Regions from separate parts of the Homo sapiens genome. Here region 1 is linked to region 2. The links are contacts of gene promoters, found by promoter capture Hi-C in blood cells and fetal thymus (Javierre and others, 2016). All regions are on one chromosome and are shown on one strand. Each heading gives the region's core, a stretch centred on a gene start or on the middle of the fragment in contact. The rest is flanking DNA. Distances are from core to core; before and after follow the strand shown.

Region 1 (5,218 bases), core at 2,353-4,852, 460 kb before region 2:
TTATAAAACACACAGATAATTTCAGAGGAGAGGGTGTCCATAGACCCAACTAGTGTGGAATTCATACCAAAGTAATTAGAGAAATTATGATCTAACTGGCCTTTTGAAAAGTGGAGCTTAAAATGTTCAGAGACAAGAAAGGAAACACCCCAGAAGATAAGAGCATTATATGGATAAAATAGACAAGTAAAAATCCTACAGTTAAAAATACAGTCTTCAGTATTTAAAAACATATCTTGTAAGTAGAATAAGTACTACAGTAGGCACAGCTGAAGAGAAGATTAGAAATATGGAAGATGATCTGAAGAAATCAGCTAGAATGCATCACAAAGTAAAGAGATGTAAAGCATGAAAATTTCAGAAAAAAAAAAAAAGCCCAACATGAGTTCCAGAAGGAAAGGCTAGGTTAGAGGAAATATCTAAGAGATAATGGCTGAGAACTTTCAGAATGAAAGCAGGATATAAATCTTTAAATTGAAGTTGTATTCATAGTCTTAAAACTTAGTTTAAAAAACATAGTTTAAAAACTTCAAAGCCATACACACAAAAAGAAATATTACTAAAAAAGAAAACTAGTTAATTATAATGGCAGTAGATTTCTCATCAGTGAAAGTAGATGCCATAACACAATGGAATAAAGTGTTCAAAATACTCAGGGGAAATCTCTGTTAACATAGAATTCTACCACCTTTGATAGTAAAAACAAAAAAATAGACATTCAGCCACAGCCACAAAGGATCTTGGTATTTCTAACAAGTAAACTCAAACCACTTATGTATAATTGAAGCTACAAAAATTCAACCATGGTCTATACAACAAGTTAATTTCACATTTTTTTCAAGGACAGACAAAGTTTAAATGCAAAGTTTTCTAGGACAAATATTTTAACAGATATAGTTTTTTAAACAAACATTTTGTGACTCAGGATTATAAATCAACCAAATTTATAAATTATTTTATTCTTCTTAGCAAACATATGGAAAGAGAAACTCAACTTTATGATGATAATATAAAAAACAAACAAAGACTTACCACAATGGTTCATGCTTATAACTTCACCTCTTTAGGAGGCTGACGTGTGAGGGTCACTTGAAACCAGGAATTTCAGACCAGCTGGGCAACAAAGGGAGACCTCATCTCTAAAAAAAATTGTTTTAAATAAATTAGCTGAGTGTGGTGGCACACGCCTGTGGTCCCAGCTACTCGGGAGGGTGAGGTTGGGGATGGCTTGAGCCCAGGAGGTCGAGGCTACAGTGAGCTGTTATTGCACCACTACATTCCAGCCTGGTGATGAAACAGGAATTAAAAGAAATTAAAGAACGTGTAAGCGAAAACTCAGTTGTATGTAAAAAAACCCAATTCCCCCTGAGAAAGAAAAAGAGGTGGAGTCCTTTAAAAATTAACGCCTGTTTTTCTGTCTGTGGCTTGTGAGTCTTATCTCTCTCTTTCCCAGGCATTGCGAAGATCCTGTTTCTCTAACTGTGCAGTTGCAAGGTTACTAGGCAGATAAACTCAAGTCGTAAAACATGTTTTTCCTTGAAAAGTTAGAAATAATGTAATGAGTGTCTCAATTGAATAACGGTCTTTGTTTCTCACTTCTGTAATATGCTTCCCCCTGCAAAGATCTCCCGCTGCCCCATGAAATGCTTAAAAGGTAACCTCACTCTTTGTTCGGGGCTCAGTCTTTTTGGATGCTAATCTGACTAGGCCAGTGCACCTAAATAATAAATAATATATATCCTCTCCGGCCCCTCAGTCTCTCTGATTCCTAAATTATCCCACTGCAGTGACACAGTGAGATCCTAAGAAAACAAACAATAAATTTAATGTAATTTTGTAGTAATTCACCGGTTAATGTTTGCTTACTTTCTTTTTTCTATATAATCTATGTTATAATCAGAGGTTTACCTTTCCAAAGACTAATGGTAGTTGTCTTCTAATTTTTTTCAAGTTTCCCCATTAAACTCATCCTTAGGGCTTGTAAACTCCTATTGTCCTTCCCAGCAAAGTCTAAGTTGAAGAACGTAGAGCTTATAATATTCTGTATCTACAAAAGACTAAGAGTTTAATATCTCTTGTATTGGTTCATTCTCACACTGGTGTAAAGAATTACCTGAAACTGGGTAACTTATAAAAAGAGATTTAATCAACTCACAGTTCCACAGGCTGTACAAGAGGCATGCCTGGGGAGGCCTCAGGAAAGTTACAATCATGGTGGAAGGGTGAAGGGGAAGCAAGCATGTCTTTACATGGTGGCATGAGAGAGACAGAGAAGTGGGAGTGCCACACACTTTTAAACCACCAGATCCCACGAGAATTCACTCACTATCATGAGAACAGCAAGGGGGACATGCACCCCCATGATCCAATTACCTGCCACCAGGTCCTTCCCCCAACATTGAGAACTGCAATTCAACATGAGATTTGGGTAGGGAGACAGAGACAAACCATATCACCTCTAAACGATACTGAAGACTGCCAGTGAATGTATTTCAGCAAGATGAAACAAGAACCCAGGAGAAAAAAATACCATGCAAGTATCAGTGATGAGCAAGGAAGTCAGAGATATGTGTTTGTCAATTGAGTAGAAATTAAAATTAATTTGTGACAACATTTACAAATTAACAATGTGAAACTTAAACACCAGACAACAATAATAAAGGAAGATTGGAGGGAAAATTTAGAAAGGAGTTCCGGTGTGCTAAATTCTTGTCTTGTTCAAATAAAGAACAAAGATATTGACTAAAAAGAGACCATGTTACAAAATTATAAAAACTAAGAATGACTGTAAAAGATATAGTTAACTATTAATATCATTAAATATTTATGTCTTAAGGAGAAGTACTATGTATCACTTTTAAAATAGGAGAGAAACTAAAAGCAGGGACTCCAGTGCTACAAAGCTTGGGTTTCTTGGTGCCACCATTTACAATACATGAACCTTGGGAAAGCTATGTAAGCTCTCTTCACCTCAGTTTCTTCATTCATAAAATGGGGATAATAGTAGAACTAACTCATAAAATTGTTATAAGGATTAGCTAATAGGTGATTTAATATACTAGTTACATATGGAGTTATGACTTCAATATATGGAAAGCACATTGAACAGAGCATAGTAAGAAAAAAATACTATATAAGTTTAGGTATTTTATCTATATTATCTAATTTCATATGTTAAAAAGAACTGGAAGCAAATATTAAAAATTTACAATTTACAAGGTGGGTATATAAATTTTGAGTAGATAAATCTTTGGACTGTTCTACGTTTTTAAAATTTATCCAAAAAAAAAAAAAAGGCAGGAGTAAAGAAAGAAAGGGAGGGAGAGAGAAAGCTGGGAGGAAAAAGGGGAAGAAAAACTTCAGGTGACTACCCAGCAAAGAGCAAAAGACGGGAGATATTTCTGTTATTGTGACCCAAAAGTTGTCAAGGCCTATAAAATGCAGATTACACTTGGATTAAATAGAAACATATTAACATAACCAAGTACTGTAATGATTTTAAGGAGAATGTTGAAAAATGGAGGACGCTCACCTAGAAATACCCAAGTATAGCTGCCTGTCTCTTAAAACTGTCATGAAAAATATTGATCATAAAATTGAAACCTTTATGAGAATGATTTCTTATATCTGTGCTGCAAGGTTACATAATGAACAAAGACAGGTAAAACTCATCTCAGAATGGAGTAAAATTAGCTGCATCTTCTGTTTCAAGTAAGATTGAATATTTTCCTTTGTTTTTTGGACATTTGTCATTCTAGTTTAGTAAAATGTCGGTTCATCTTCACAGCTTATTTATCTATTAGGTTGAATGATTTTTTAATTTAGATATAAAAAATTTAAAACACTTCAAATATTAACCCTTTAACATTTGTGTTGCAAATGCTTATTCCAAGTCATTTCCCCATTTTTATTTAGTCTATATTTCTCTTTGAAATACATAATTTTAAAAGTGATATTTTCACATAGAAAGATCTTTACCACAAGTTATTTTTGCTTTAGAAGTTTTTCCATTCACACACAAAAAAGTTGACTTATTTTATTTTTTAAAGATTCTGTGTATAGCAAGATGAAAATTTTAGTTCTTTTTAAATTTATCATGACTCATTTGTCACGTATCTATTTATTATATATAGTAAGGCAAAAAATGTATACTATATATATTTACTTTGTATTCATATTTACAAGATCAAGTCCTATTTTATTGCTCACTCTTCCTCTTTTAGAACCAGTCCAATACATATATTTAATAAGTACAGCTATATAAAATGCTTGGAGTTCAGGTAAAGTTAGAATATTATTATCAAGCTTAATTTTCAAAATTGTATGCCTGTTAAGCTTCTGAGAAAACAGAGCCGGGCACAGTGGCTTACATCCATAATCCCAGCACTTTGGGAGGCTGAGGCAGGTAGATCACTTGAACCTAGGAGTTTGAGACGAGCCTGGTCAACATGGCAAGAGCTCATCTCTACTAAAAATATGAAAATTAGCCAGGTGTGGTGGTGCATATCTGCAATCCTGGCTACTTGAGAGGCTGAGGCACAACAATCACTTGAATCCGGAAGTTGGAGGTTGCAGTGGGCTGAGATCTTGTCACTGCACTCCAACCTGGGTGACAGAGTGAGACTGTCTCAAAAAGGAAAAAACAGTTCCCTTGTAATAGATCGTATATGAACATGATATAAAGGATAATAAAAAGGGTATTCAGATAATGGTAGTACTTCCTTCCATTATTGTTTCCTAACCACTAGTTATACTTTTCAGAGATAAAAATTATTTTGTATCACTTCACATATTTTCTAAGCATAAACTAGTGACACAGGATTCTGTTGTTCAGCATGCAGAGGGAATGGCACCCAAGCAGCTTCTTTTCTTCCCTGTGGCTCCACCAGCAGGAGGGAGCGGTTACTGTGTTACAGGAGTTTTTTGGGGGTACTTAGCCAGCCGGAAATCTCATAGCCAGTGGCGTCTCTGCCCCAGCTTCGCTCATGACCACAGGGTTTGCTCTGCCCACTCAACCCAGTGGGCTACACTCAGCTCGCGCTACCAGCCCAGAACCTGCTCCCGCTGCAGCTCTGCACTCAGCTTGCTATTGGTCCAGGCATGTCGCAACTGGCTTCCACCTTGGGCACTGGTGTCTGGATGAGGGGGATGTAGTGGTGCCCAAAAACTAGGAGTGGCAAGCAACTGCGGAGCTCCAAGTGGTGTTATGGCTCTCACC
Region 2 (5,270 bases), core at 197-2,696:
AGCAATGCTGGCAAAAGCATCAGTACTATTTCTAGGGTTAAGTCTCAACCCCATTGCTCTTCTTCATGAATGTACACATTCACTCTACCACTAAATTGTTACTGACTCCTTCCTCTTCAGCGTTTGTTAAATAAGTTTATTTTCTCTAACCTTGGTCCTAAGTCTGATCCACCTCCAAGCAAGTTCACTGTACCTTTTTAGCCACCTCTCTTACTCCAAGGACACAGTCAAATGAAAGTTTTCATTTAGGCTCCCCCTCTCTTTCCTCAATAAGAGGAATTCCCATTCTTTTTCATTTGTGGTGTCCCCTTCCCAGGCTTGAAGGTAGGAGTGATATCGTGGTGACACTTCAGCTGTGGAGACTCTCCTCCTACCACATAAATGCTCCAAACCCAGATGTGTCTACAGCCCAGCTAAGATTAGAAAATGTTACTGGTTTCCCTTCCCTTCTCTGCCCCGCAAAATGACCATGATGCAGAGAGCAAGCTTTGAAGAGTTGGGATTTTTTCCTACTTAGAAGCCTTCTCACTACCTTCCCTCGGTGGAGGGGAAGGGGAAGCCTGCTTCCAGCCACATCTGAAGTTCCAGCTCTGCTTTGTGAGTTCTGACTCCTAAGGAGGCAGGAGAGACCCTCTGGAGGGCTCTAGGCATCCTGCTACTCCTCCTCCCGCTGGCACTCTTCCCTAACGCCAGGTGATCACACCTTCAGTCAAAGAGTTCCCGTTCTTCTGCCTCCTGCAGGATATGCTTCTTGGTCTATACTACCACGTGAGCTTCTTTAGTGGGTTTCCCTGCTCGCCCCTGCCCCCACCCCCCGACCCTCACTTGCGAGCACAGCGCCTCACCCCGGTGGACAGCCCGCCGGCGCCGCCAGGCCCTCTGCTGTGCGCACAAGTCAGCAGCTGGCGGCCTGCTCGCAGCACTGGCAGCGAGGACCTCGGAATCGCTTCCGCCCTCGGGCCTTCTCACGCGTCTAGGGACTGCCTCCAGCAGGTGCAGCCCCAGGTGCCCAATTGCCAGATCTTTAACCTCGCGCTCTCCCAGCCTTCAAAGTTCTCCAACCCGCGCCTGCCAGCCCCAGCGCGCCCTCTTGTCCAGATGCCAGCTCGGTTCAGGGTTCGCCCTCCCCGCGACTCCAGCCCCAGACTTTCCTCCTGGTTTCCAGTGCCCAGCACGGCCACTTACCCAGGGCAAGGGCCAGGAGCAGTGGCAGGGAGCTGGCGCCGCTGCACCGGGCGGCCCGGTCCATCAACCCCGCTCTGCCGGGCCGGGCAGCCCCTAGACAAGTCTCCCTCCTTCTTCGCCCCCTTCCCGGGCCTCGGGCGCCTGAGAGGGTGCCTGGAAACTAATCCCGGAGGCAGAAGGAAACGAAACTACTTCCCAGGCTGGCACCCTGGCTACAAGGCAGGGAAACACCCAGGGCGGGAGGCCGGCCGGCTCCGTGAATGTCGCCGGGAGGAGGGAGCCTCCTATTTATCCCCCCTCCTCCTGCACACACCCCGCCAAAGAGGCGCAGGACTTGGTCCTGGGAGCCTCCACGCTGCTCCCACCCAAATTGCCCCACACCCATACCCACACCCAGGGACATATTCGGGCTGCCCTCGGACCAGCTCACCACTCCCCCTGCTGGGTCTCACCTGACTGACTGTTCATTTCCCTACCCCCTAGGGCGTAAACAAGGTAGGGAGGGAGATGTAAAGAATCCGCGTGGAGGGGTGTCGGGGGTTCCGGTCGGGCCTGCAGGCTGACCTAAACTCCTGGAAGCCACCGAGGAAGAGTCAGAGACCCAAACGTGTTCTGGAATTCTAACTTCCTTTATTTCAGAGGATTGCTAGTGTCATGGAGAAACCAGACTCACCATTCATTGTGGTTGACTTCAGGCATTTGATAATGCAGGCAATTTCAAAAGAGTCATTGTTGCCTTTTAAAGTCTTGAAGCCATAGCGAAACCTCGTCTCTACAAAAAATACAAAAGTAAATTAATAGCCGGGTATGGTGGTGTGCACCTGCAGTCCCATCCATTCCCTGAGGCTGAGGTGGGGAGGATCGCTTAAGCTTGGGAGATGGAGCCTTCAATGAGCCTAGATCGAGCCACTTCACTCCAGCCAAGGCGCAAGAGTGAGACACTGTTTCAAAACAACGACAACAACAACAACAACATCAGCAACAAAAAAAAAAAAAAAAAAAAAGAAAAGAAATGAAAAAAGTCTTCAAGCTAGTGTCTTAGTTTCTGGGTGCATTGTCTTCTAATAATTCATAAAATTGGGGCTCACCAGGACCTACTTTAGAAATTTCATTTGTATTTCTGTTTATGAATTTACTCATGTATTCAGTATATTTTCATTTACTTGCATTAAGCAATTTCTGGAACAGAAAGACATCCTCACAGCTTTTAGAGAAAGCAAGCAGCATCCAATTTTACCTTATGTGGTTATATATTGCCTCCAAGATAACCAAAAGATACAGCTGCTTTTGTACTGGTCTGTGTTCCTCATATAAGATTTATGTGGATAATTATGCCCCTCAGTACAGAAATTTTATTTCTATAGCATCCAAAAGTCATGTAAGCCTTATTTTACATATGAAATGTAGTTTGGGTGTCTGCCTCTTCCTCCTCATCCTACTGTTTAAGTTAAGTAAATTGTTGTGCACTTGTCTCCCACGAATAACATTTCATTTCAAAACTAAATTATTTTACTGCCCCAGGCAACTGATATATCCGGTGGAATAAAAATCAGCTCTTAATTTTCAGAATCCCATTCTAGTCCCACATGACAGCTCATAAAACATTGGTAGAGAGGGCAGGCATGAAGTTTAAAGAAACCCAAAGTTGTAAGATGGAAGGTTACTGCACCCCAGCTAAAAAGAGCAGAAACACTGGAAGCCAATGGATTTTGACATCATCTCCCTCCCTCTCAACACTTCCACCCTGCATTTTTCTTTTCTGATATTCTCTCCATCTCTCAGCACCAGTGCCCTAAGTTAAAGTATCTCTTACTCCAAGATGGCATTTAGCCTAGCCAACAGCTGTCCTGTTAGCCCCAACAGAATGCTACAATTTTGTTTTCCTTTTTCGTAGATACTAATAAAAAAAAAAAAAAGCGAGACCTAAACAAAAAGTACTAAATGTTTGTTGAGCATTGGAAAATTCCAGGACTTGGTGTAAGTATTCATCATTTATGCCATTCAAGTGGTAAATTAACTTTTTCAGGCCACTAGAATATGAAGTAGTATAATTTAATATACTAAATAGGACAGATAAATTAATAACCTTCCTTGAGGGCTTTATTTACCACCATAAATAAAATAAGTACTCCCAAGAAAATCCAAATTTTCTGACACTGGATATCCAATCTCTTCAATGTTAAGAGACTTTTCCTGTCTTTTTTTGTTTGTTTCTTTTTTTTCCCCTCACTTTCTTTCTCTCTGTTCTTCCTCCTCTTCTTCCCTCTCCTTCTCCTTCTTCTTTTTCTCCCCCAGCCCCCAACCACCTCTCTCTCTCAAGTCATTTGCTTATGGGGCATGGTAAAGCTGGAATACAACCATTACATTTGGAAGAGTGGAAGGTAAGAATTGATTTTCCTGAGTCCTCAAACATGTAACTGAGTTGCGTCTCAGTGCTTTCATTTGCAAGCTGAGCTGTTACTAAGAGAAAAATAAACCAAAGTTACACCAGAGTCACAAGGTGAAACTTGTATTCCTAGTTAACCCCAAGGTAGGAATTGCTTGAGTGCTGTTCTTCCTGTGCCAGGTTTAGGCAGGTATAACCAGTCCTCCCAAATCTGGTATGAGGCTTAAGTAGATTCCTTTGGAGGGCCTTTAAGCATCAGCCTTTTTCTCTTCCCACACAGAACAGCCTGCAGCTGGGACCGTCCTCCCCGTCTTCTGGACAGGACAAAATAAACTTGTAGTTACATATAGGGCACAACACATAAACAGACACACGCCATGATGGAAAGGAAAATTTTGGAATGCATTCCTTCTAGGCCAACATGTATTCTCCAAATGAAGGCTTTAAGGCATTCAGTAGTATAGGAAAATTTCCTAATGACCATTAACTTTATTTAATAAGAGTGGGTGAATGAAAATGATGAAAGGCATTTTTAAAATTGTAATTTTTATAGTAATGATAAGCATCATGCATTGTAGATTATTAGTGGTACAGTTACATAGAGAGAACTTTCAAATATTTTATTTAAAACTACTGAATTGGTTTCTAAGAATGTATCAGTGAAAAATCACTGCTCAAAAGTTGTATTCAGGTAATTGTATTTTATAATCTAGTTGTTCTGAGGGAGGTAGTTATTTTTTTTCCTGCCTACTTTCTTGTATCTTCCTCTTCAGTCTAGGGGATCCACTTTTTATATGTATTTCTCAATGTGTTTGATTTGTATCTCTTTTATTTTTATTTATTTTGTTTTTTGAGACAAAATCTTGCTCTTGTCCCCCAGGCTGGAGTGCAATGGCGTGATCTCTGCTCACTGCAACCTCTGCCTCCGGGTTCAAGCAATTCTCCTGTCTCAGCCTCCCAAGTAGCTGGGGATTGCTGGCACCTGCCACCACACCCAGCTAATTTTTTGTGGTTTTTTTTTAGTAGAGATGGGGTTTCACCATGTTGGCTAGACTGGTCTCGAACTCCTGACCTCAGGAGATCCACCTCGGCCTCCCAAAGTGCTGGGATTACAGGCGTGAGCAACCACGCCCGGCTGACTTGCTATCTCTTTTAAATGGCAGCTTAACATATGTTATTAAACCTCAAAAATAATTGTCTCTGTGACATTATACCTGTTAGTTTCAGTTCACCATGATGATCTTTTTCTTTGGCCATATTGAAACATACTTCAAAAAGTAACTTCTGATTTTAAAAAATCTGGGCTTTTGTGCTGGCCCTAGTTGTAGGCTAAGTGAGAAAGCACCTATGTGGCCCTAGACATCTCTTCCTAAAGTCCTTGCCACAGTGGCTTCATCTCTTCCTACTTGGTCCCAGACTTCCAGCAAGGTAGACACTCCTCTAGGTGGGACAACAGAGCTGGAATATTATGTACAATTGGTTTTGGAATCTGTTCAGTCTGTTCAATTTGGATCTGTGTCACCCAATGACTGAACCACAAACTACTTACCTCTCTGAACCTCAGTTTCCTCATTGATAAAATGTGATGGTAATGACTTGCACAGTTTTTATGATTCCCAATAATACATATCTTCAAGGAAAAAATCTGGTGTATTAGAAACTGTTCAGTGAATTATAGTTGATAGTAGTAGGAGTAGGA

What was found. Contacts are between HindIII fragments. The CHiCAGO score rates a contact against its expected background, and 5 or more counts as called.
Region 1: a contact is called between a fragment that was not itself captured here and the fragment with the promoter of BTC in region 2, in 1 of 17 cell types (endothelial precursors). The highest score is 5.2, in endothelial precursors.

The regions. Positions count from the first base shown.
Region 1 is chr4:74,329,166-74,334,383 of GRCh38, forward strand. LOC105377276 (a long non-coding RNA gene) reads right to left here. Exons shown (of 3, transcript NR_188415.1): 2 at 1,033-1,139. Among named protein-coding and RNA genes, the nearest start is that of EPGN, 23 kb to the left of the region's middle. RefSeq lists a cis regulatory region at 1,322-1,621. The HindIII fragment of the contact is 1,402 bases long and covers 2,902-4,303 here.
Region 2 is chr4:74,793,077-74,798,346 of GRCh38, forward strand. BTC (betacellulin) reads right to left here and starts at 1,447. Exons shown (of 6, transcript NM_001729.4): 1 at 1,186-1,447. The coding sequence starts at 1,249. The HindIII fragment of the contact is 1,569 bases long and covers 485-2,053 here.